Linked DNA regions of Homo sapiens: all the other regions are linked to region 4. Evidence: promoter capture Hi-C in 16 types of primary human blood cells and fetal thymus (Javierre and others, 2016). All regions are on one chromosome and are shown on one strand. The core of a region is centred on a gene start or on the middle of the fragment in contact, and the rest is flanking DNA. Distances in the headings are between cores, read along the strand shown. Region 1 holds the start of FAM25C (family with sequence similarity 25 member C). Region 2 has its middle 73 kb from the start of OR13A1. Region 3 holds the start of LOC105378283 (a long non-coding RNA gene). Region 4 holds the start of LINC00842 (long intergenic non-protein coding RNA 842).

What was found. Contacts are between HindIII fragments. The CHiCAGO score rates a contact against its expected background, and 5 or more counts as called.
Region 1: a contact is called between a fragment that was not itself captured here and the fragment with the promoter of LINC00842 in region 4, in 8 of 17 cell types (activated CD4 T cells, M1 macrophages, M2 macrophages and 5 more). The highest score is 11.1, in activated CD4 T cells.
Region 2: a contact is called between a fragment that was not itself captured here and the fragment with the promoter of LINC00842 in region 4, in 2 of 17 cell types (fetal thymus and naive CD8 T cells). The highest score is 7.3, in fetal thymus.
Region 3: a contact is called between a fragment that was not itself captured here and the fragment with the promoter of LINC00842 in region 4, in 4 of 17 cell types (activated CD4 T cells, total CD4 T cells, total B cells and 1 more). The highest score is 6.0, in activated CD4 T cells.

The regions. Positions count from the first base shown.
Region 1 is chr10:47,999,466-48,005,630 of GRCh38, forward strand. It overlaps FAM25C (family with sequence similarity 25 member C), which reads right to left and starts at 326. Exons shown (of 3, transcript NM_001137548.3): 1 at 228-326. The coding sequence starts at 300. The HindIII fragment of the contact is 8,536 bases long and covers 640-6,165 here.
Region 2 is chr10:45,239,364-45,245,929 of GRCh38, forward strand. It overlaps the pseudogene CUBNP2. Among named protein-coding and RNA genes, the nearest start is that of OR13A1, 73 kb to the right of the region's middle. The HindIII fragment of the contact is 863 bases long and covers 1,410-2,272 here.
Region 3 is chr10:45,222,060-45,228,639 of GRCh38, forward strand. It overlaps LOC105378283 (a long non-coding RNA gene), which reads right to left and starts at 2,451. Exons shown (of 6, transcript XR_001747443.2): 1 at 2,260-2,451. The HindIII fragment of the contact is 3,272 bases long and covers 103-3,374 here.
Region 4 is chr10:46,395,258-46,401,651 of GRCh38, forward strand. LINC00842 (long intergenic non-protein coding RNA 842) reads left to right here and starts at 3,105. Exons shown (of 4, transcript NR_033957.2): 1 at 3,105-3,536. RefSeq lists an enhancer at 1,365-1,980. The HindIII fragment of the contact is 4,014 bases long and covers 1,864-5,877 here.

The DNA of each region.
Region 1 (6,165 bases), core at 3,658-6,157, 1.6 Mb after region 4:
AGCTGCCAGTGTTCACCCAGCACCAGGACTCATGCCCTGCCCCCAGGAGACCTCCCCAGGTCTGCACCCCTCAACTCCGTGCTGACTTGGTAGAGCAGGAGACCAGGGTTCCTGAGGGGCCAAGGCCTCCCCGCAGGTCCTCGCCTGCCTACGTAGATCCGCCTCCCACAGACCCAGTCTGCCCCAGATCCCCCCAGCCCAGGTAGAAAGGAGCCCCGGGTCCTCACTGGCTCCCTCGGTGGCCTTCTCGGTGCGGTGGGCCAGGCCCTCGGCAGCCAGCTTCCCCAGGCCTCCCAGCATCGTGTGGCAGCAGACAGTGGCGAACTAGGATGCTGAGGACTGGCCCAACATGCTTTTATAGCTGCCTCTGGTGTCTGTCTAGGCTCTGGGGCAATAAGCCCTCACCCCAGCCCAGTAGGAGGCTGGACAGGTGAGTCAGTGAGGGCGGCAGCAGGAAGGGGCTGGGCGGAGCCACCCTGGAACTAGGGTGGCAGCATCCCCTGACAGCATGAGGCTTCTGTAACCCTGTCCTAGGGACCCCGTGAAGGATAGGGGCAGGGAGCAGGGCTGGACAGTAGAGATCTGGACATGCTTCTTCCTTGAGGCAGAGGGCCTGAGTGCCAGCCCCCCTGAGACCAAAGCTTCCCAAGCCTGGGTACTGATATGTACCTGGAGACAAGGCCTAGGATTCCAAGCCTGCTGCTCAAGGTCCCCAGTGTGGCCTAGTAAGAGGTTTGGGGGTTCTATGGGCCTGGAGACCTGGGCAGTCCTTTGGGTCATGAACACAAGTGGAATGAGGGTGACTGCCCTCCCCATTCCTGGAGACCCTGGCTCTGCAGAGCAGTTTGCGGCCTCCATGGGACAGGGTGGGGCGTTCAGGGTGGTGCCTTGCCCGAGTCAGAGGGGGGCACAGCACTGGGCAGAAGCGTAGTCACCTGGTGTCACTCAGCTGATGCTCACTCACCCAAGAGGCTCTGTGAGGTCAGCAGTGCCCTCCTATCCCCTGGCAGTCCTGGAGGAGTAGACAGAGGCCTCCACCACCACTCAGGGAGATGCTTCTGGCCTTAGCTAGAATCCCCTAGGAAGCAGCTTCCCTGGCTCCTGGTGCATCGCATGAGGAGTGGCAGGGCTGCTCCCTAGTTACTCATGATGGACAGACATGCCTCAAGCCACCTGCCACATGCTGCTTCCCTTAGTCACCAGCCCAACCTGAGCCTCCGTTTCCTCATCTGTAAAATGGGCATAGCGTGTCTTCTTGGCTGTGTCCCTAATCATCCCTGAGACAAAGCATGCAAGCTCCTGGTAAACACCTGTTCCCTCCACTCATCATTGAGGTGCCCTTTGGCAGTGAGCTCTGACCAACTGGTAGGGTGTGCCAAGGAGTGACTGGGACGTGAGGCTGCCTTGGAGCCAGAGGGCTGGGGAATGTGACTTCTGCTGGCCAGGAGCCAAGGAGAGGTCTTCCCATGCTCCTACTTCTGGGGTGCAGGCCTGTGGCAGGGGTCTGAGGCTCTCTCCCCAATGCAGGCTCCTGGAGCTGCTCTCCTGGATGTGTCGGGGCCTGATTAGTTTACTGGACTGTGGGCCCTCCCAGCCTGGGACTCGGGAGCTGAGACCTTCTTGCATTCCTGCATGGTGTTTGCGGGCTCCAGGGCTACGGCCAGTCCCCCTAGGGTGGACAGTGGGTATCGTGGGCAGCAGGACCTCTGGGTCTCAAGACTGTGGCCCCACACATGCCATTGCTGTCTCCTTTGGGCAGGGGTGGATCGGGGCTTCAACAATTTAGAGGGGCCTCTTTATGAAAAAGAATACAATAATATGATTCTTGCACATTTTTCATTTATATACGTATGAACTTCTGGACCCAGAAGGGGCTGTGAAAGTCGGGGGCCTGGAGCTCAGGCGGGTCCAGATGACCCTGTCCTCCTTTTGTAACAGCCAGAGTCCAGGATGCTTTGCCCAGGGCATTGGGCTGGCACTGCAGAGGCCTGGGGGATGGGGGGACACCTGGGACATGGCTGGTGGGAATTGTTCTAGGAAACCTCAGGGATTCTCCCTGGACCTGTCAAAGCCCCTTCCCTGTTTCTTCTGAGGCTGTGTGTCCCCCCACTCGCACAAGGGTCCTTTCTATGCCTGCTCCCCTGATAAATGTCATCTGCCTGCTCTAGAATGGCTTCCAGACCCCACAGACCCCCTCCTCATGAGCTCCCACCCTAGGGTACTCTCCACCAGTCCGCGCTTTCAGGAGCTCACCAGACCCAGACAGCCTGTTGTCAGAGCTCATCCACACAGCAGGACCCTGGCCCACTGCCCAGCCCAGAGCCAGGCCCACCACGGCCTCTGGGGACAACTGCCCTTCCCCCCACCCCCTCCACATGGTCCCTTGCCCATGAGACCCTGCCCTGCTAATTTAATGCACTGCCTTGGTGTGAGCACTGTGATTCTAATGACAACACACCATGGCCTTCTGGGCGAGGCTGGGTCCAGACACAGATCCCAAATGCCTGCTGGGGAGAAGGCAAGAGGCCCGGGGAGGCCCAGGACAAGACATGGGTCCCAGGCCCTGGTGCCCTCCCTCTTGGCCTTCCAGCTGCTGCTGCTGTGACCAGATTCCCATTCACCCAGCCCCGTCCATGGGCCCCAGCAAGCCATCTGTGCCCCACAGAGGGCAGACCCCTAAGAGTGGGACCCCTTTCTAGCCAAAGAACATGAGATAGCCCCAAATCCTCCTAAACATGATGGATCCTGGTCTGAGGGGCTGGGCTCAGGTGACTCCTGCAGGGAACTTCACCTGCCTGGATGAGGTCAAGTGTGAATCAGGTGGGGCCTGCCCTCCACCACCCCATCATGGAAGAGGTCCAGCCCACAGTGGGCCCAAGAGGGCCGCCCTTGGACCTAGGGACCCAAGTCAGCATATCCTGAGTCAGAAGGTCAAGTCCAGCCTCCCCTCAGGCAGGGAGAATCTGGCTTTGACAGGAGCAGATAAATTCTCAAGGTGGAATTTGCCCAACATACTAGTTTGGCAAGGGACTAGCTGGCTGAATCATTGAGTCAAGGACAGCCAACGTTTCCAATAGCAATTTGCCAACTTAGCAATTACCAATTCTGAAAAACAATTTGTTTATTTGAAACACTTAAATACTTAGGCTGTCTCATGTCTGAAGCATGATGATGCCTTGCGTGATTTAAAGGACAGACGTCACGAATGCCAAGAGTTTTGTGGCGGTCCATCCTGCCAGTGTCTTCTCCCACTTTTGTTCTGTGGATTTGAGCTCACAGTTTGTGCTGTGCCCACCGCCTGCCCACCCTAACGAGACTCCTGGAGACTTGGCTGGCCAGTCACCAGAGGAAGAGGGGCCCAGCAGCACGCCAGCATTCACCCACCTGTGGGTATCAGTCAGGCTCCTGGTGGAAGCCAGAGGACATATTCGAATGGGTATTTGAGGAAAGGGGCTGTTCACAGAAGTGTGGACCGAGTTAAGGGAACCAATAAGAGATGAGGAATGTCCTGGACCAGCAAGAGTGGGAGCTGTTATCTCCCTGGGTCTAAAGGGACAGGAAAGGTGTCCACAGATCCCAAAGAGAGCTGTGGCTGTAGAGGAGGATCATCAGGAGCTGCAGCCATCAGTAGAAAGATGTGGCCACTGCCAAACCAGCAAGGAAGAATCTGAGCGAATAACCACCTCTCCTCTCTCTCTCTCTCCCACCTCCTATGACGTCCTCCACTGTGTGAATTCCACTAGGGCCAGACAGTGAGGCACCCTGGTGATGCAGTCCAAGAGGGAGTGGGCAGAGAGGAGCCAGTGGGTATGGAGGGGAAACAGAGAAACAGAGAATTCCAGCTCACTCTGCGGGATTTCTGGGTCTGATAGAAACATGGCATTATTATTATTATTATTATTATTTATTATTATTTTGAGATGGAGTTTTGCTCTTGTTACCCAGGCTGAAGTGCAGTAGCATGATCTCGGCTCACTGCAACTTCTGCCTCCCACGTTCAAGAGATCCTCCTGCCTCAGCCTCCCGAGTAGCTGGGATTACCGGCACATGCCACCATGCCTTGCTAATTTTTGTATTTTTGGTACAGATGAGGTTTCACCATGTTGAACAGGCTGGTCTTGAACTCCTGACCTCAGGTGATCCACCTGCCTCGGCCTCCCAAAGGGCTGGGATTACAGGCATGAGCCACTGTGCCCAGCCTGCAGCAGCTTAATTTTACAGTGTCCCTTTTCTCCTTCTGGAAACTATATGGGGCAACAACAAGACTGAGGAGGAAGAGGAGGAGGAGGAGGAGGAGGAGGAGGAAAAAGCCCATCATCAATACACACATCAAACTCAACTTCAGAGAAATTAGGAAGCTGGGAAGCCACGTAAACCCAAAAGCAGGAGACACCAGCAGAACCAACGCAGGAAGCCAGGGAAGTGCAGAAGAACAGGGCATGGGGGGCAACCCAGGGGGGAATCTTCACTATTGCCAGCAACACACATTCCCAGCAGGAGAGGACCCTCAGAGTGAGAACGCAGAGCTGGAGAAGTGAAGAAGGAGCAGGTGGTGCCCGGGGAAGTCCAGGGGTGTGGGATCTGAGAGCACCCCTTCCCAAGAGAGGCGGGAACACTTGGGAAGGCAGGGCTGAGTCCCTGGAGGCTGTATCTGGGAAAGGAGGCTGGCAGTAGAATCTTCCTGAAGGCGAGTGGGTTCTGAGAGGCAGAGGGGCAGTGGTACAGAGGTGAGGCTGACGCTTCTGTGCAGGAAGGTCAGGCTCCTGAGGAAGGGAGCCCCGAATGCTCTCCACTAGATTCCCAGGGAGCCCCACTCCCTCCACAGGGACCTCGCGCTGACATCTGGGAAATGCCATTCATACTGGAACGTCCAACACACTGCCATGAATGTGAGGGTTTTGTGACTGATGGGGTAGGTTTCTCTCTTCCAACTTAATAGTATAATGTCCATTTATTCCTCCCCCAGCCTCCCTGAACATGCACCTCTTAGATAGCCACAGTACGGTGATCAGAACCAGGAAATCCACATTCTCATATTTAACTATATTAAAATTATTTCACAAAATAACCAATTTTATTAATTTAATTAAATACATTTAACTAATGTTTAAATATATTTAAATAATTTAACTGATTTAAAATGAACATATTCGCTAAACAAAAGACCTTATTGGAGTTTCACCACTTTTTCCACTAATGTCCTTTTTCTGTTCCCAAATTCCACCCAGGATCACGCTGCATTTAGTTATTTCTTAGTCTCTCGCCATTTTGTAGGACTGCAATAACAGTTCCTCAATCTTTCCTTATCTTTCATAACCGTGACATCTTGAACCAGTACTGATCAGTATTTGTGAAATGTTCCTCGATTTGGGATTGTCTGATGTATTTCCATGATTGGACTGAAGTTACGAACTTTTGGCAATTACAGCACAAAAATGATGTGGAATCCTTCCCAGTGCATTCCATCAGAGTTATGGCATTGATAGTTCTTCTTACTGATGATGTTGAACTTGTTCATTTGGTTCAGGTTTCTGCTGGGTTTCTCCATTGTAAAGTTACTATCTTTCCCCCTCATAGGGGGAAAGATCTTAGGAGAAATACTTGGAGACTATGAAAATTTTGTATTTTCTCAAACTTTAAAATTTTTTTTCAGGCCAGGCACAGTGGCTCACGCCTGTAATCCTAGCACTTTGGGAAGCCGAGGTGGGTGGATCACCTGAGGTCAGGAGTTCAAAACCAGCTTGATCAACATGGAGAAACCCCATACCTACTAAAAATACAAAATTAGCCAGGCATGGTGGTGCATGCCTGTAATCCCAGCTACTCAGGAGGCTGAGGAAAGAGAATTGCTTGAACCCGGGAGGAGAGGCTGCAGTGAGCTGAGATCGTGCCATTGCACTCCAGCCTGGATAACAAGAGCAAAAGTCCATCACAAAAAAAAAAAAAAAAAAAAAAAAAAAAAAAAAAAAAGGCCAGGCGCAATGGCTCACACCTGTAATCCCAGCACTTTGGGAGGCCAAGGTGGGTGGATCACCTGAGGTCAGGAGTTGGAGACCAGCCTGACCAACATGGAGAAACCCCATCTATACTAAAATAAAATACAAAATTAGCTGGGCATGGTGGTGCATGCCTGTAATCCCAGCTACTCAGGAGGCTGAGGCAGTA
Region 2 (6,566 bases), core at 591-3,090, 1.2 Mb before region 4:
GCTGTGTTGATCAGGTGAGATTCCTTTTAGGTCTATGTAGTAGCCCATGGGAGAGACTAATGCCTTTCTAGTGCTTCAGGGATTATTCTGCTAAGTGTTTAAATAAAGTAGACTTGCCATGACAGAGTAGCCAGTTATCCACTAGTAGATAGGAGGGCTGCCATATTTAAGACCTTCCAGCACCATACCCTTGAGTTTGGGTGTTTTCACCCAGGGGTCCTCTTTTAAAATGGCGTTGCTCTGAGAGGAGCAGTGAGATACTAATTTTCACGGACACTGCCAACAACTTGTCTTATTCACTTTCGTCTCCTAGGAGGAATGGGGCCACCGAGAGCAGCGGGCATCCCTGCGACATCAGAGGATCCTGGAAGGGGAGGTGAAGGCATGAAAACAATCGCAGATTCCAGGCATGGTCTAGAGCTCGGCCCTCACTTGGTAGTAACACAGAATCCTCAGTCAGACATTTCTGTTCCTACGGCAGTTCACAAGAATGGAATGCTGAGGCTTCCTGGTCCAGCTGCCAATAAACTATGCCCACAGTCTTCCCACCGAGAGCCAGACGGAGCTACATTTTACAGGCCTAAGCTGTGGTTTCCTTTCTTTGCTTATGGGACAGGAAGTTTCAGATCCATTCTACGGAGTAATGAAGGACAGCGAGGAGGAAGAGTTCTTACTGTCCATGGCTGGAAAGCAAGGCTTTGCTTCCCAGCATCTATCAGGCAAATGGCAAATGTTGACTCTGATCAATAATGGTCCATTCAAGCTGGAGTGAGTTAAGAGTTAGTTGCACTGTGACTCCAACCTAACGGGATTATTCCATCTTTCATCCAGATCCCACTCTCCTCATTCTTTCTGCTTTACACTTCATATAAATATATGGATCTCCGTGGTGGGGGAGGTACGTAGGTCCAAGTTGAGTAACCTGACCGGCACAAAGAATACTGTATTTGTCTCTTCGTTTCCTCCCTGCTACATACATCTTTTGGTTTCCTGTCATGGGAATATTCCTTTAGAAAAGGCATGAGCTTCCTCTGAGTGTTATTTATGAAACTACATGTTAAGGCTATTGATTAATAAAGGATTTAGATGAATTCCAAAGGGGAGAGCTTTCCAGGATGATAAAACTGCATCAAGAATCATGTTGAAGCTAAACCCATAGGCAAAGACCATGTGCCAGAACACCCTTCCTCACCAGGCCGGGCAGAAGGTGACAGCAGCCCTAGAAGCCAAATCAGATGAGGTGGGTTGCAGGTGAGAAAAGATGTTTTGTTGGGAACAAAGGCTGCAGCTACCAAGAAACTAGCAGCTGAACAGAAGCCCACTGGAAAGAATCCTCCCACAGAAGGAAAGAAGCCTGCTGCATACACCAGTACATTTGTTTATGCTACAAAGATCAAATCATCTTGGGAAGCTTATTTTGAATGAAGACCTGATCAAAGAGGCAGTGAGAAAAAAAAATAAAACAAAAAATACGACTCCAGATCAGGTGTAGAGGAACAAGCAAACTTTTTGGAAACCTTACTGAAGCCTCTTGTATGGTGAAACAAAGCCAGTTTAGAGAGCATCGGGATGAGGTTTAGATTTAAATTCCACTCTCAGAGGAATTCAGCATCCTTATCCTTTTGAGTCTCAGGTTCCACCTGAGTTTATTTCCTAAGGATGAATGCATTTTCAACAGAGCTTGCAAAGGTCACAACCGCATGAGCTCTGGGGGGTTTTCTGGCAAAACACAGGTGCTGAGTTCCACACACTGGGTCCGCATCAGATGAGTCTTATTCAGACCGTTTCCTGCCTATGAGCAATGATATTCATGTTCCATCTCACATGCTCAATGCAGGTGATGTGGCAGAAAGAGCACAGAGGGAGCTCACCAGGGGCTCTGGAAGACCCCAAAGGTTCAGGCCCACAAGGGGCATGGCTCTGCCTGCTCCAGGTGCAAGGGGGGCTTCTCTCTCAGTGTGTCCTGGGGTGGGAGTTGGGGGTGAATGGGTGGAGAATGGGCAAACAGCAAAGTCACTTCTGTGTCCAAATGAGAGCTCTGGAGTTGTGGTGGAAAAAGGACAGACCACACTTCCTGCAACAAGGGAGCACTTTTTCAAGGCAACACTTGTCTTTAGAGGATGTTGACGATGCCCCAAACTTACTGTAGCTGTCAGGGAAATTAGGTGAGCTATTTAGTATCATTCAGTTTCATTTTACAGAATCAGCTTGTTGTTCTTAGACTTTCCTCTGATCCTTTTAGGTCTCAACTTACATATTGCCCTCTTAAAGAAGCTTTCTAGTTCCCAGACTGAGTTAGGAACCCCTACCCCTGCTGGACTCAGTTAGTCCTTTCCACATTGTGCTGTAATTGGCTATACCCCATCTGTCCTTTCCACCAGACTAGGAGTCTTCCGAGGGCCCTGAGGTTCCCAATTTCCGGTGTTTGGACTGGTGCTCTGTAAATGTTTAGGGAATGAAAGGGTAATGAATAAATTAATGAAACAAGTAAGAATCATAGAGCATTAGAAGCACTAAAGAAAAGGTGTAAAATCCATCATCATTTAAATGATATTCAAATGCATATTACCTCCAAGAAATCGTTTCTGCATTCAATTGAGTTCTCAATGCCAAACAAATGAAAAAAGAGGGTGTGGTTGTGGGGGGCTGTGAGAGTAATGGTGCAATCCATGTCACTGTCGTAGTTATCTGGCCATCCAGTACTCCTCAGGTTGCCAAATGCCTTGTGATAGTCTCTGTTGCAATCTTAGGAGAAAAATATGCATAATTAATGTATGCATTCCAGCGTTCAGTGCTCTTTCAACTTCGCAGGAATAATTCAAAAAGATCATTATATGTGAACAAACTTTAGAAAAAGGTAATCCAGCTTCTTCGTTTACCTTTGAGATAATTGAGACCCTGAGCAGTGAAGTGAATTTCAAGCAGCACACACACATGCAATGCAGCAGCTCATTCACACAAACACCCCTACAGGAAGCATGACACAGGAGCCTTCTCCTTTAAAGACGAATACTCGAGGATCCTTTGAACTTTTCTGATCACATTGAGGTGAAGTGGCTAGCATTCAGACTCTCTTTTAGACAAGGACACTACCTCCAAGACAGAGTTTTGCGCAAGGATTTTAAATCCATTTGTGAGTTATTTGTGGGAAATCGTTCTTTACCTTTTTTTTTGTAAAAAAAATCTAAAGTACTTTTGTTTGTTTAACCAAAGGCAGCTTTCATTTGAATCAATTCAAAATAAATATCAAATAAAGTGTTCTGTGAAAATAAACTTCTCAGTGATAGTAATCAGGTAACTCTTTTAAGGCTTTTTGATTTTTACAAAAATAATTTTCTAAGATTTTCAACCTTGTGAAAATACTAAAAACCTCTGAAATATAAACATTAAATGGGTAAATTGTATGACATGAGGATTATATTTTGATAAAGCTCTTGTAAATATATATATATTTCTCATAAATAAATATGTATATTCAGTGTGGTTAAGTGCGTAAATTAACAAAATAACTGGTATATTTTTAAAATCAACTACATAGACGTTGAAGAAAATGCTAGCATTCTAAGCATCTTGGTTAGTATTGTATTCTCTTTACCTCTTTAGAAACCAACTTTAGTAATTTGCTAAATTGGGCCTGGGTTCTAGTTAAGAGATGGGTGTGGTTTTTGTTAACAAATCTTAATTTACTAACGGGAGTCAATTCTAGAAATAATTGTAATTATTCTAGGAATAATTGTAATGATGGCAGCTTTTCTTAATAAAAGATGAAGTTCTGGGGCTCACCTGCTATCTGATAGGTGAAATTCATTCTAGAATTTCTGTTTAAAACTCCAGATTTGAAAATGACAATTGCAGTACTCATAGAAGAATAAAACACCGGCATAGCCAAAGCATTTCTGCCACAGAACTGAATTCTTGAATTTCCATGACTCTGAAATGAAATGGAAGCCAAGTCATGTTAGATTTATTTTAGAAGAGAACAGCATAACAGAAATTAAACTGCCTATAAAAGTATGGCTTAAATATTTAACCATGGAAACTAGCTCTGTTGTTGGAAGTGCTCTGCAAGAAGACTCACTTTGGCCTTGGAACTGATACAAGTCGCACCTTCCCAGAGGGGAGGGAGGAGGGGAGGCAAAGTTTCTGCTGAAACCACAGACACTTCCCTGCTGAAAACAAGACCCCTCCCCTCTGATGTGACTTCCTAGTCGAGGCCTGTGCCATTGCTCTGAGCACCACTGGGCTGTTTGAGAGTTCACTGGATTTCTCCTCCTGGGGCTTTTGCCAGTCCTGAGCTCCATGAGACTAACAACCATCATTGCCCTGATCCAGCCCTTGCTACCCCTTAGCAAATCTAATCAGAGCCTTTGGTTCCACTGTACATCCCCAAGCCAGCCAGGGCCTGTAATGAGGTGCTGGTTCCCCTTTGTAACACTTGGGCAGCCCTCATTACCTCTCAAAAGCCTGGAGTAAATGCAGTTGAATGCCCATCAGTTCTTGCATAAAAACAAGTTGTACCAAAGTCAGGGTATTTGCAGCCTCCCTGTCACAAGTATGTCTCTAATATCTGCAGTCCTTAGGAACCTACTGAAAGACCCAACCCACCTCTGCTTGCAAACTCCTCTTACTGCTCAGGACTTCCACTCCTCCTCCCAACCGTCTCCTGCTCTTGGTCCTTGTCTAACTTTGCTGTATCCTGTGAACTTTAACTGCACGGTCAATCATTCTCTATATACATCCCCCGCCTTTCCACTTTGTAGCCTTAGCAAAACCTGTTTCTCCACCAGCCTCCTGGTAGAGGCCACTCTTTTCCCATGCTCCACAGTTTATTGAGTAGGAAGGGTGGGGGGTCAGCCTAGGAGGAAGGGAGGGATGCTCCACGTTCCTCACTGCAGCTTCCATCCTTGCCTCAAAGCTGGTTCACCTTTGAGGGTCTCTACGTCTGGTCAAATATATTCTCACCATTGTCATCACTCTCACTTACTTTTCTCCTGGTTACTTCCCAGCATTTATGAAAGACTTGAGGTGTCTCAGCTCATAGTAATCTCCTGCCCCCAATTTCCTTTCTGAACCCTTAGAGGTTTCAGTGTTTATACAGACAAGCCATTAAACACCCTCACTTTATATTTCTTAACACCAGTGACTTCCATCTCTGTGTCTCCGTTCATTCCCAATGCCAGGTAGCTACTGTACATCCTCTATAACAGCCCTACACATCATTCCTTCATGATCTTCCAATTAGACCTTCTCTGTCTATTCTTGGATACCCTGAGAATCCCAGTTTCTCCCAGCTCATCCGTCAATGTTTGTCTTTCCTCCCTACCTACCCAGTCTGAAACCCTTGATTGTTTCCTGTATTCATTCAGTTGAAAACATTATTCAGTCATGACAAACACTGGGTCTTACTCACAGCCACTCCAGCTGCTATTATGTTCCAGCTGGTGCCTAGTGTTCTGTAAGTGGCACGCTGAGTGGTCCACCATGATCCTCATTGTCTTAGCTTCATGAAGCAGGGGGAAAAGGCTTCACCCAAAGGACCTTGTTCCACTTGGCTCTAAGTCCTTCCAGTAAGGGTACCACTGGGTAATAGGGATTTTGTCCTGAAAACCATTACCAACAGAATGATGATAGTCTAGCATCTTGTCCATCTTGAGAGCTTGGGAGCTCATCTCAGCATCTAAGCTTTGCACAAAACTGAGCAAGTCCAGGGCCTATTCAGCTGCCAGCACCTCTCACACCTCTCCACATTGGAGTCAGACAAACGGGACTTTTCTCTCCCCAGCAAGACCAGGTGAGAAGCAGGGGACCCCAGATTTATAATGAAGAGGACCCTGAAAACTCAGAAGACAACAAATGGGACTCTACTATTCCAGCACATGGGGCTTGAACATGACATTCTTGGAATGAACTGGGGAGGGTTAGTTGCTCCCCCGACTGCAGAAAGAGAATCCAGGTATTCTCAAATGTTCTCCCTGGTATCCATCCTCAGTTCACGGCCTCTCCCTTTACATATTTTTCCCTGGATAATCTTATTCTTCTCATTATTTCAATTACTTATCATGATAATGATGATGCACAAAAATCTCTGGGCCTTAGGTCAACATCCCACTTTGTGTCCAACTGTCTCCTCAACATCTTATTCCAGAGGAAATTCAGACTCAGCATTTTGTAAAGCTCAAAATGGCTTTCTTTCTTTCTTTCTTTTTTTTTTTTTGAGATGGAGTCTGGCTCTGTCACCCAGGCTGGAGTGCAGTGGCGCGATTGGGTTCATGCCATTCTCCTGCCTCAGCCTCCCGAGTAGCTGGGACTACAGGCGCCTGCCACCGTGCCCGGCTAATTTTTTTTTTGTATTTTTAGTAGAGACGGGGTTTCATCGCGTTAGCCAGGATGGTCTCAATCTCTTGACCTTATGATCCACCTGCCTCGGCCTCCCAAAGTGCTGGGATTACAGGTGTGAGCCACCGTGCCCAGCCTCTTTGTTTTTGTTTTTGTTGTTGTTGTTGTTGTTGTTGAGACAAAGTCTTGCTCTGTCGCCCAGTCTGGAGTGCAGTGGCGCAATCTTGGCT
Region 3 (6,580 bases), core at 489-2,988, 1.2 Mb before region 4:
AAGAAGAAAGACAGGCATCTCATATGCTTAGTAGTACAATACCTTACTGTTATCTTCAAAGCTTAATTCTTACCTTTTGATAAATTAAAATAATGAACGGAAAGCTTGAGATGCAAGAACTATTCTCTGTACATGCCAGTTAATTGTTCCCTGTGTTTAATCTGGATACTAATATATAAAACTTCCTGGTAACAGCTAAAATGTTATCAGTAAAGAAATATGGAGGAAGGTGTGGTGGCTCAAGTCTGTAATGCCAGCACGTTGGAAGGCCAAGATGGGAGGACTCCTTGAGCCCAGGAGTTTGAGGCCTAGCCTGGGCAGCATAGCAAGACCCCATCTCTACAAAAAAATAAAACCATTAGCCAGGCGTGGTGGTGTGTACCTACAGTCCCAGCTACTCAGGAGGCTGAGGTGGGAGGATCACTTGAGCCTGGGAGGTTGAGGCCACAGTGAGCTGTGAATGCACCATTGCATTCCAGCCAGGGTGACAGAGCGAGACCCTGTTTTCAGGAAAAAAAAAAAATTACACTTATAATTAATGTAGCCAAGTGAAATATTTTAATACTTGTATATATTAAGCACTGTGTCACTGTGTGTGCACTGCTGAGAACTGAGCCCTAGTGGAGGCTCCGAAGAGCATCCTGGAACCCCGTAGGCTCCGAGGAGTCCCGAGGTCAGGGAGTTTGCAGAGAGCAGCCTTGGGTCAATGTTACAGAAGCCAGAGGAAGTGGACTCTTGACATCTCCAAATTCACTTCCACCCAGCTTCCCAAAAAGCACTATTATTCTTCATTAGCTTCTTCTTTAGGAAAATTTAAGAATGATCTTGCTTTTCAGTACCCAATACTGAAATTTACTTCAGGAAGCAAGTGGCTATCTTTTCTTCCCTAATAAAAGCAATGGCTTCAAAGAGATAATAGAGCTCAACCGAAATAGCTAAGCCATTCTCCCCATTTATAAATATCACATAAAGTCTCCTCTTCAAAAGCTGAAGGGTATAAAGCTCCTCTGCTGAAAGCAGCCTCTCTCTTCTACCCAGTGAGAACGAGTGCTGGAGGGAGGAAAGCCATGGGGGCCAAGGGTCCCGCTATGCCAGGCATCATCTTCCCTATCCCCTTCTCTTTCTCCTCTGTATCAACAGTGCTCCCAATAATGACCATGATCATGGCAGAGCTGGGCAGGGGCAGCAAGGGACACACCTAGATCTTCAGTTCCAGAGGCATCTGTTCTGTTGCTGACAGCGAGGACCCTTACGGAATGCAAGAGACCAACACACACCAAGGCTGAGAAGCTAACTAGTACACAACCTAAGTTTAATGGCACGTATTTTCATAAAGGCTATGAAACGCAAATCAACTACATTTCCTCCCTTTTCCTTCTGCCAAGACGTATTAATGGCATCAACTCCAATCTCTATCCCAGGCAGGTTTTCAAACCGGGAAAAGCATGGCTTCACAGTAAACCTGACTCTGCCATTCTTTCCATGTCTCAATGGCTTTCCATCACCTTTCAGGGTCTCCTGAACATCTCCCTTCTTCTCTCGTCACATCCTGGACGTGATCTCACACACTCATGGGCCTAATCCATCATTCTTTCATTTTTTTTCATTCCTCAAACTATTTTTGAGCATCTACTGTGCTCCAGGCACTATTATAAAAAAAAAAAATGCAAGCATGAACATTGCACTGCTTTTGTCTTCCCAATGTCCCAGTGGAGAAGGGAGACTTCTAGATTAAAAAAAAAAAAAATCATTACAATCCTACGTGACAGAAGTCACAAAACAAGGCACACGTCCAACTTCACAGGGCAGGGAGTGGCTATGTTAGCTTGGTGCAGACAGAGAAGATTTTACACAGGTGGTGATGTCTAAGCTGACTCTTAGAAGTAAAACGATTTCAGGTGAAAAAGACTGAGGGTGAGAGAAAACAGAATTCGTAAAAGCACCAAGATCTGAACAAGTAGGCTCCGGTCCAGAAAGGACAATAAATTCAGAATGGCTGAAATGCCAACTGCATGGAAGGGTAAGGTAGTGTTCAGATTCGGAAAGGCCTTGTGCATCACGCCTAGAAACCTGGAGCATTACAGTCGGTAACGGACAACCTGGAAAAGTGTGGAGAGGGTTTAAACCAAAGCCACGTCAGCCTGAAGGGCGTCCGGGTGCAGGGAGGGGATGGGGCAGGGCAGGGGACTGGGAAGGGTCCAGCCCCGGTCCGGCCACGCAGAGAGAAGCAACCCCAAGTGCGACGCCGCACACACTCACCGCAGAGGGCAGCCCCTAAGAGGGTGGGCGTGCAACCACAGGCTTCGGCAGGACGCACTCCGGCTGCGACAGATGCCCTCGTTCCCTGCTACACCTGCACTAAATAACTAACACGCCCTGTCTCGGCACACCGCGCAGCTGCCAGCTCCACGCCCGAACCTACCCATATTAAGAGAACAGCTCGCTAGGCGTGGCTCCAGGGCCAGGTTCCGCCCTTAAAAGAATATGGAAGAGGCTGGCCAATCACGTACGTTATTCGGCTTCGAGACCCCGCGCCACGCTGAGGTTAATTTATCGCCGTGGCGAACACTCCGCGGTTTGGAACTCTGATTGGGCCGAGCTTGGCGCGTGCGCGCGATGTTTGGCGCGTGTTCAGTTGATGGGTCGAAGCCCAGAGGGCTGTGGGGGAAAGCAGAGAAGTTTATGGCGCGACTGCGCAAGGGAGGGTAATGGCTGAGGGTGGGTGTTGCGAAAGCTGGAAGTAAATTGCCTTCGAATGTTTCGCTTCTGTAACTGCGGCTCCACTCGCCAGAAGTTGCTACCCTGAGTCCCACAATGTGCCTCTGAAGGACCTTGTGGGGCACGCAGCCTCTCGCCCTATGAAGAGCTTCTCCAGACAGGAATTCTGGCGTGGTCTACGTTTCTCCAGCGCCCCGCTGGAAATCTTTTTTGACAGGTTTCTAAGGCTGGCTTTTACCCCTGACCCTTTTGCCCTTAAGCAACAAGAACCACCCTCAGGGCTGGAAGCTACAAGTAAAACCCTACCATTTAAAGGTCATTTGAAAACACCACTAAAGCGATGTCTTTCCCGACTATGACTTTTACATCTGTGAAACATAACATTCTGGCTCCCAGGAACCTCCCGCTTTCTCTTCCAAAAGCAACCAAATTTTAAATTCTAGCAAAACTGCTGCCCTCTGCCTCCCTCTTTCCTGACCCAGTCTGTTACCCAGCAATATCCTGTGCTTCTCTCACCAAAAACCCTGTCCTGAGAGACAATTTCATACTATGGAATAAAGATTGGCACCAGGCACTTTTCTCCTATTGTCACCTAAATTGATGATAGACGGATACCACACATGCATTTATATATTGTAGATTGTAGCGGGGATCAAAGCTTTAAGGAGATGTAAAATAATGTAATTCTAGCCCTGAACCAATTGGATTAAAAAAGGATCTGCACTCTTAAATTCGAAAGCAGAAACTTATTGCTTAAAAAACATTCCAGATGAAAGGGTTATTCCTGCATTAGTCTTCTTTGATCTGGAACCGTTCCTTGGCTTTTATATTTATTGAAATGACGTTATTTAAGAGTACAGACCAGGTATTGTGTGGAATATCCTTTAAAGTGAGTTTGTCTGATGTTCCCTTTCAGGTTATGAATTTTTGGAGAAACACCACTAAGTGATGTGTCTTTTCCAGTGCATGTTATCAAGGTAGAGATAACATCGGTTTCTCCCAGTATTGATGATGTTCACTTGGTTAAGGTGGTGTCTGCGAGGTTTCTTCACCATAAAGTTACTATTTTTTCTTTATGATTAAAAATAATGCTGGGGGGAGGTGCTATTGGATTACGTCCCTTTTCTCATCTAATTTTTACCTAGTAGTTTTAGCATCCACTGATGATTTTCTAACTTCATAATTTCATCTGTATGTATTAGTTGGTAATCTCCTAATACATTTATTTCTTGAATCACTAACTCTTCTAAAGCAAAAGAACTTTCTTGAAAAAATTAGAATTGTTCTTGTTCCATCAGTTTCTAATAGTGAATCTTGACTGTGTAGGCTGAAGACAGTAGTACCTGTATTAATCGGCTAGTGCTGTCGTTACAATATACCACAGACCGGATGGCTTAAACGACAGAAATTTCTCACAGTTCTGGAAGTTCAAGATCAAGGTGCCAGCAGATTTGATTTATCCTGTGGACTCTCCCCTTGGCTTGTGGATGACTGTCTTCTCTTGGTGTCCTTCCAGGGTATTTTTCTCTGTGCAATCACACCCTTGGTGTCTCTTCCTGTTATAAGGACACCAGTCCTATTGGACAGCCCCACTCTTGTTTCTCTATAATAACACCCTGTTTTTGTTTCATAAATGTACTCTCTTCTCAAGTATCACTGAGGATAATAGTTTTTAAACCTCTCTTCTGTTCACTAAATTATGTTTCTTCAAGGCTCCATTCTTATGTGTGTTTATCTAGTCTTTCCCCTAGAAAAGAAAAATTCTTCCCCTCTCTGGTGGTTTATTCTTTGTTGTCCTTTTGAGTTCAAGTGTGAAGATCTGAAATGGTTTTTCTAGATAGCTGGAGTGGTTTCTTTCCTCTCGTTTGTGTGTATTGTTTTCCTCCTAGATCCTTGGGCTGATTGTTGAATTTCTTTAGAGGCAAGAACCCAGTGTTATGCCTGCAGGTCATCACCAGGCTACCTTTGCTGGTGGAGGGAAATGATGGATTGTCAGTGCCAGTTAAGGCAACTCCATGACTTTGGTTTTAGCTCCTCACACTGCACCTGCCAGCCCCACATCCAGATAACACCTGGAACAGAGAGTCCCAAACCTCCTGCATTTCTCTCTCAAAGTTATTTTGGGCTGCATGCCTCCATTCACTCCTGCTTCACAGGAATTTGTTTTCACTCCTGTTTGAGATAGTAAAAACCAAACTGTTTTTGCTACTCTTACACGCTCAACACTTCTGACACCAGAGATTCCCCCACACATGAAACAGTTCTCCAGCAGACACCAGCTAAGTGTCCTACAGTTTAACTTAATTCTGATACTACCTCAACTTACAGTCAAATCCCACAAGTTAAGGGTGCATTTCCACAAGACTGTCCCCTACTTTAGGTTGACTGTCACCTATACTTCTGACCACCTATAAATCAGTATTCCCACACCCCCTTCTCGGGTTTGATTAATTTGCTAGGGTGATGGTTAGCCTGTCCAGGGTCCTGATTGCTAGCAGTGAGACTTCATGGTGACACAACGTGGAATCAGGAAACATCCCTTGGCCACTAGATCTGGGAAGTTGACTCAATGTGTGTTTCACCAGATAAGAATATTAAGGTTTTTGCCTTGGGACTGGCTCAGGAAATCAAGCAAGATGGACCTGGGAAGTGTGCTTTGTGAAGTTGGGAGAAATCAGCTGATAGTCTTGTATGGCTGTCTGTTCTCTGCTTTATCCTCAGTGCACTTAGTATATGTCACATAGCTGATGCTCAATAAACATTTGGAAATGAGTGAATTAAATGTAAAGCAAAACCAGAGGATATATGATGGGTCTTACTAATGAGAGTAGAGTCGACTCTTTTCTCCTTCTTCCAGCTGAATTACTCAAAAACTGAATTGCTCAATAACTACTTCCCTTTGCTGTACATGAAAATGTCATGCTTCCAAGCCTGTCAATCCCCTAACCCACTAAAAAATCACTGTTTATTTCCTAGATGGTTAGCCTGGAAGATTTTGTAAAGCTTCATTTTGTCTCTTTTTTCTGTATTTTTAATTTTAAAATTACATAATAATATTGATTATGCTTTCCTCAATTTCATGTACACCCCTCCCAGATATTCCAATATGCCTCCTAGAAAAGCATGCCCTTCTGAGTGGAAATGATACCATTACTCTAATGATGCAATCCATGATCCAAGCATCATTTTTTTGACAGCTACATCATGTTAATCTTGCTTTCAGAAAAGTACTGTGTCATTTCATGTTATTATTAAACTTTCCCTGTATTCTGTACCTTTGCAATTCATTTATTAGATAAAAGAGGAAGATTTTATATCTATCACATTTCATCTGTTACTATTGGCCCATTTTTCTAGCTTATCAAGACCCTTTGGATTTGATGGTGTTACTCATTGCATTTGCTGTCCTTTCCAATAGAAATGTCATCCATAAAGTTGATATATCTATCCATAATACAAAAAGGGAGCAGGAATTTTTTTTGTTGTTTGTTTTCTTGAGATGGAGTCTCACTCTGTCACCCAGGCTGGAGTGCAGTGGCGTGGTGTTGGCTCACTGAAACCTCCACCTCCCTGAGTTCAAGCGATTCTCCTGCCTCAGCCTCCCAAGTAGCTGAATTTTTAAGGTGAGAGTATTTTCTTTATGTACCTCCATACTCTGTCCAGGAATAATTTCTCTGAAATTTGAGTATTAGAGTAAGATGAAGTAATATATTCCACAGCTTCTTTCATTCACTTGGTCTCATGTTCTTAATAACCCTTGATTTTGCATAATTAACATAAAGCAAATTTCCTTTGTAAAGGCTTCTGCTTTTCTAGAGGCAGTGAAAAACTTTATAAAAGCATTGGATGTTCTTATAAAAAG
Region 4 (6,394 bases), core at 1,855-4,354:
TTTGCAATTGCTCTTTGGAATTTGTTAAAAACACACCTATGTTTTTAAAGATAATTTGGAGTCTGCCCAGTTTAATTTCAGCATAGGGGAAAAATAAGGGAATAGTGACAAAGTTTCTTTGCTTGAGCAAACTTGAGTCAGGCTCCTGAACCTTCTAGGCTCATCTGTGTACTTTCTTGTAAAATTCAATTTGAGCAAGAATCCCACTAAGTCAATTCAGCAAGAACTCCCCTTGTTCCTATCTGACCACTCCCAATATCCGATCAGGGTCCTCATCCTCCACCTTCCCAGGTGATGTCTGGTCACCCTGGCCTTTCTTCAGCAGGTCTCCTGTTAGGTCAGTTTAGCCAGCATCACCCTCACCCCTGGCATTTCCTCTTGGTAATTTTCCATCTTTCAACTCCTACCTGCTCCATGGCTCCAAGTCTCAACTTCTCATGCTGTTTTTAGAATCAGCCTGACTGTATATTGAGGTCTCTTTTCGCTTATTGCAATAGTCCTGAATAAAATCTGGTTTTACTACTTTATCGTCTAGCTCTGGTTTTTCTTTGCCATAGGTATTCCCTACCTGTAGCCTTGCCATAGCTCTATCATCGTTGCTTTTTAATTCCCTCCAAGAGATGATATCTACATATACTCCTTCTCTATCCTCAGATCAATGTTTTGCATTTCCTAGGAGCTGAATTCCTTTTCTTCCATTGCAGCACTGGCTGGGAGAGAAGGCACAACATGGTCCAGCATACTGAGCCCCAAGTTTGTCCTGCAGCATGATTTGAGACACAGTGTTCGTGCCGCACAGAATTCTGTGAGCCGTCCAATAGCCTTTCATACATTTGTTTTCTGCTTAAACTACAGAGTAGATGCTCTTGTCAGCACCTAAGAACACCCTCTATTACACAGAACTACACCCTAATGACATTTTATCTGTTTACGTGTCCTCTCAGAAAAGCTGTGAGCCCCTTGAAGGCAGGAACTTTATTTGTTTTTAAACATTCAGGGCCTAGTAGATAGCAGGCTTTCAACAAATATTTTTGAATAACAACAAACAAGAGTATGGACTTTGGGAACAGGAGAGCCTAGTAGCCAGCGAGCCTGAGCCAATCCTTGATGGCCTCCAATTCTGAGAAGAATCTCTGGGCCCCCTTAGGCTCCCTGTGGAAGAAAGCTTACCCAGTCAATCCTAATAAAAATACTTCTGAGACAGATCTAACAGGACAAAGTGGAGTCTCTCCACTCTTTCAGTAGCTCCTTCACCCCAGGTGCTGTTTGGGGTTCTGACACTGCCATGGCATGGCCAGCAGGATGGCCCCTAGGGCTCCTGGGGCTGCTCTATAAGAGCTTCCCACCCCTGACCTGCAGTCCATGAGGGCAAAGCCAGATCCGGGCACATGCCCATCCGTGTTGTTCTCATGCTCTCAGGGGGTAGAGCTAGTGTGTTGGACTTGGCATGTTTAGGGTCACCTCCCTGAGGGTTGACAACCTGAGCAAAATCAGCATTCCCTTGGCAAGGAATAAAGGGGGAATGGATTTGTGGTCAGCAACCCACCGCCAAGCATTCTGCCTGCAACAGGGTGGGGCTGGCCAGGGGAGGCTCCTCAGGGAAGGTGAAAGCTGTGCAGAGTTTTGCAGGATGACTCAGTGCTTATCAGGTAGACAGATAAGGAAGAACATTCCAGGGAGAGGGAGGAATGCTAACAACAGCAGGGGATCTGGTCTGTACTAGACATGCCAAAGGAATGGTGTGTCCATATCAACAGAGGAGGGAGAGACAGAAGAGAAAGAGCTTGTCAGGGCCTGAGTCAGAGCGGGCTCATGCTGTGGGGCTAAGAAGCTCAAATGATTTCCAGAGACAGTGGGGAAGCTTTACAGGGACAGGCAGGGGAAGATCTTAACCCGGCTTTCGTAGGCCTCTGGCTTGAGTATAGAAGGTGAGTCTGGGACAGGGAGCCCAGCGCCGAAGTGTTGCAACACTATAGGGAGACATACAGACCAATTCCCTCCCACCTAACAGCTCTGTGCTTTGGGGTCCTGGGTTAGTTTCCTGGGAGAAGGCTGGCCTTGGCTACCTCTGTCCTTGACCAAGGACATCGTTTTAAATATTTGTGATGTGTCCTAGGCCACTGCATCTCTGTCCCTGTAGCGAAGAGAAGATACTGATTCCTAAGCTCCTACTCTGAGAACACAAATATCTGCAATACCTCGGTAAGCCCTAGGCCTGAGTGTGAGGTTGCAGGCACTTCCATGGCCCCATGCAGGTGTCTAAGTTCCCTCGTGGTATTTGGCCAAGGGGGGCCCTGTGTGATGCCCTAGCGCGGTGACTACCCGTGTTCCTGGCCCATGGGCATCTTCCACGGAATTCTGGGCTTAGCCTGGGGATTCATGCGGGCGCATCTCTGTGATCTGCTCTGGAGCAGGATGTACATCAGGTCTCTCAGACCTGAGTCCCTGGTGCCTGGCGCTCAGCCTTGACTGAAGTGCTCGGCCCACCCTGCTGGGCCAGCCAGCTCCTGCTCAGGGCCACAGCCCTGTAACCACGGCTTCCTCCCCAGGACTCAGGAATTCTCCCACTCCGGAATGCCTTGCTGCTGGGGTGACCAGGTCTTCACTTGTGAAACAGGAGTCAGCCACCTCAGCCCTGCGCCTGGCCTGGTGGAACATGGGTCACCGCCCCAACCTGGGGCAGCCGCCCCATCCCAACGCAGTTGCTGCCGCTCTCCATGCCTCCCTGTGCCCAGCTAACTGGGGGACTTGTCCCCTGGGAAAACCTGGGTACCCAGGCTGCCTTTGGTTTCAGCCCCTACTCCTCTTCCCGGGCTGCCTTTGCTCCCCGGAAGACCCCTTTCCCCGGGCTGTGTTCACATCGGCTGGGAAGGGTCCCTTGCAGACAGATCTTGGACGAGGTCGCGTCCCCCCTCGTGACCAGCAAACTCCTAAAAGCGGCCCTTGCCCCAGAGCCCCTGTAGCCTCCAACCGGCAGTCAGGAGGCAGCGCCGTCTCAGCGCCGCTTAGTGGCGCCAGGCGTGCCTGGAAATCCGCTTTCGCAGCGCCCCCTCGTAGCCGCCTCCGCCCGCAGAAAGGCGTTCCCTGGACAGAGAAGCGGGCGCGCGGGGGCGGGCGCGCGGGGCCTTGCCGGAGAACCTGACTCTCCGCAGCAGCAGTGGAAGCCGGAGTGACGCGTTGTGTTGAACACCAGTTTTCTGGAGCGCTGTGTGTTCTTAACAGCTGAGCAGTCTGTTTCTCCAATCAGGTTTCAAAGCCACTTCAACTGCACTGGCCCCTGTGGGTCACTGCTGCACCGCCCTGACCCATGTGGGTCCCTGAGGAGCGACCTGCCGGGGCCACCTGGCTGGACGAAAAAGACACACCTTGGACTTAAGCCGTGAGAAAAAAACTTCATCAGTAAGAAGAATGAATAAACAGACTAGGTTGAATCCATACAATGGAATGTTAGCAGACAATAAAAAGAAAATGAACTATTGATGTCCCCTACTGCACAGCAGAAGCTCTGAATCGTGTTCCTGAATGAAAGAAGTCAGGTATGAAAGAATAAACATTGTATGATTCCATTTATATGAAAATGAATCTGTGATTTAAAAATCAGACTAGTATTAGGTTGGTGCAAAAGTAATTGCGGTTTTTGCCTTTTTTTTTTTTTTTTAATAGTTGCTTTGGGGTTTATGGATGGAGTGGCATGGTAGAGGTTAGCTGAAGGGGGCATGAAATAACTTTTTGGGGGTGCTAGAGTGTTGTAAATCTTACAGTGGGGGAGGGACAGGAGTGCAGGCATTTGACAAAACACATTGAATTGTGAAATTTAAGATTTTTGAATTTCTTTGTATGTAAATTACCTGCCAATAAAAACATGACGAATAGAGCAGTTATGAGCATTTGTGTGTAGCTTTTTGTGCAAACTTAAATTATAATTTCTCTGATAAAAGCCCAGGAATGTGATTGTTGAGTAATATGGTAAGTGCATGTTTTTTGAGAAACTGTCAATCTATTTTTGGGAGTGGCTGTGTGTATCATGTTATATTCTCACAAGCAAGGGATGAGAAATTTGGTTTCTCTGCATCCTTGCTAGCATTTGGTTTTATCATTATATTTTTATTTCAACTGCTCAAATAAGTGTGCAGTGATTTCTCATGATCTCAATTTGCATTTCCCCAAAGGCTAATGATGTTAAATATATTTCCACATGCTGATTTGACTCGGCCATGAAATGTCTCTTCATGTCTATTGCCCAATTTCTTATCAGATTTTTTTTTTTACTGTTGAGTTTTGAGAGCTCTTTATGCATTGTAAATGTGAGTCCTTTGTCAGATATGCAGTTTGCAAATATTTTCTCCCCTCCATAGCTTGTCCTTTCATCATCTTAACAGAATATTTTGCAGAGGCAAAGTTTTTAATTTTGATGAAGTCCAATTTATCAATTCTTTCTTTAATGAATCGTACTTGGGTGCCATGCCTATGAACTCATCCTCAACTCCTAGGTCCAGATGATTTTCTCCTGTGTCTTCCTATCATAGCCAGAAACTAGAAAAGAACCAAAATGTCCCTCACTAAGTGAATGCTTAAACTAAGTGACACATCTATGCCAATATTCAGCAATAAAAAGAAACATTATTCATGCAAATAACTAAATGGATGGATCTCAAGAGCATTAGGCTAAGTGAAAAAAACCAATCTCAAAAAGTCACATACTGTACGATTTCACTTGTATAACATTCTTCCAGGGGCAAAATTATAAACAGTGAAAACAGATTAGTGGTTGGCAGGCGTTAGAGGCGGTGGTGGGGAAGTGTGACTACAAAGAGGTAGCAGGAGAGATCTTGGGATGATGGGATAGTTTTGTGTCTTGGTGGTTACAGGAATCTACACATGTGATACAATGTAATAGAAGAACACACATTGTGCTAATGTCAGTTTCTTTGTTTTGATATTGTTTTGTAGAATGTAAAACGTAAACAGTGGAGAAACTGGGTGAAGGATATTGGGACCCCTTCACAAATTCTTGTCAATCTATGATTATTTGAAAATTTAAAAGTCTAAACATACATAAAATAAAAACCTAAAAGGCAAAAAAGTAATGCACGCACTTGATAAAAATCAAGTAGTACAAAAGAGTAAATGGTGAAAATAAATCTCTGCACCACTCTAGAGACCCCAGCCAAAGTCCTCTCCAAACTCTCTCACAGTTATTAAGTTTCTTGTATATGCTTCTAGAAATTCATCTTGCATATGCTTCTAGAAAATCAAGTAGTACAAAAGAGTAAGTGGTGAAAATAAATCTCTGCACCACTCCAGAACCCCCAGCCAAAGTCCTCTCCAAACTCTCTCACGATTGTTAAGTTTCCTGTATATGCTTCTAGAAATTCTCTAGGAATACGCAAAAATATATGTACTTTCCCTACTTCTCTAGCTTTTGTCTAATGCTAGTCTTCTTTCTATTTTTAATTATATGTATTTAATATATCTTTAGGAAAAATTAATACTTTTTAACAGCAGTGTAAGATTTCATTGTGAATGTACCATAATTTATTTAACCAATCTCTACTCATTTAATCTGTTTTTGGTTGTTTAGGCTGGTTTCGGTAGCTTGTTATTGGAAGTTATTGCAATAAACATTCTTATATTACTTTGTATCATCATAGGATAGACTCCTAAAATATTGTGTTTAGATCAAAGGGCATGTGGAATTGTACTTAAGATAGATTTTGTCAAGAAGTCCCCATTCTCATCAGTACAGAAGGAAAATACCAATTTCCTAAACCTCTTACTAAGACAGTACATCTTCAAAATTTGATCCTCACTCATCTGGTGGACAAAGTATAGTAATTCAGTGTTTTAGTTTGACTTCCCATGATGACAAGTGAAGCTTTAAACATGATGCTTTTTATATATTTAAAGGCCTTTTGTGTCATTTTCCTGTGAACTGTTGGCTCAGGTCCATCCTTCAGTGGAGTTTAGTGAATCTGCCTCATTTCCCTAATCAATTCTGTCTCTTACCACTGGAAAGGAATACCACAGTTGTTTACCCATTCGTTGACGGACATTTGGATTGTTTCTACTTTTCGGGTGTTATGAATAATGCTGCTTTGAAAACACTTGTACAAGATATTGTGTGGATATAGGTTTTCAGTTCTCTTGGGTATGTATCTAGGAGTGGAATTCCTTGGTCATATGATAATACTACACCCAACTTTTTGAGGAACTACCAAACTGTTTTCCAAAGTGACAGCACCATCTTATGTTCACACCAGCAATGAACGGGGTTTTCAATTTCTCTGCATCTTCACCAACACTTCTTATTGCCTGTCTTTTTCTATGAAAGCCATCCTAATGGGTGTGTAGTTGTATCTTATTGCGGTTCTATTTGCACTTTCCTAATGACTAA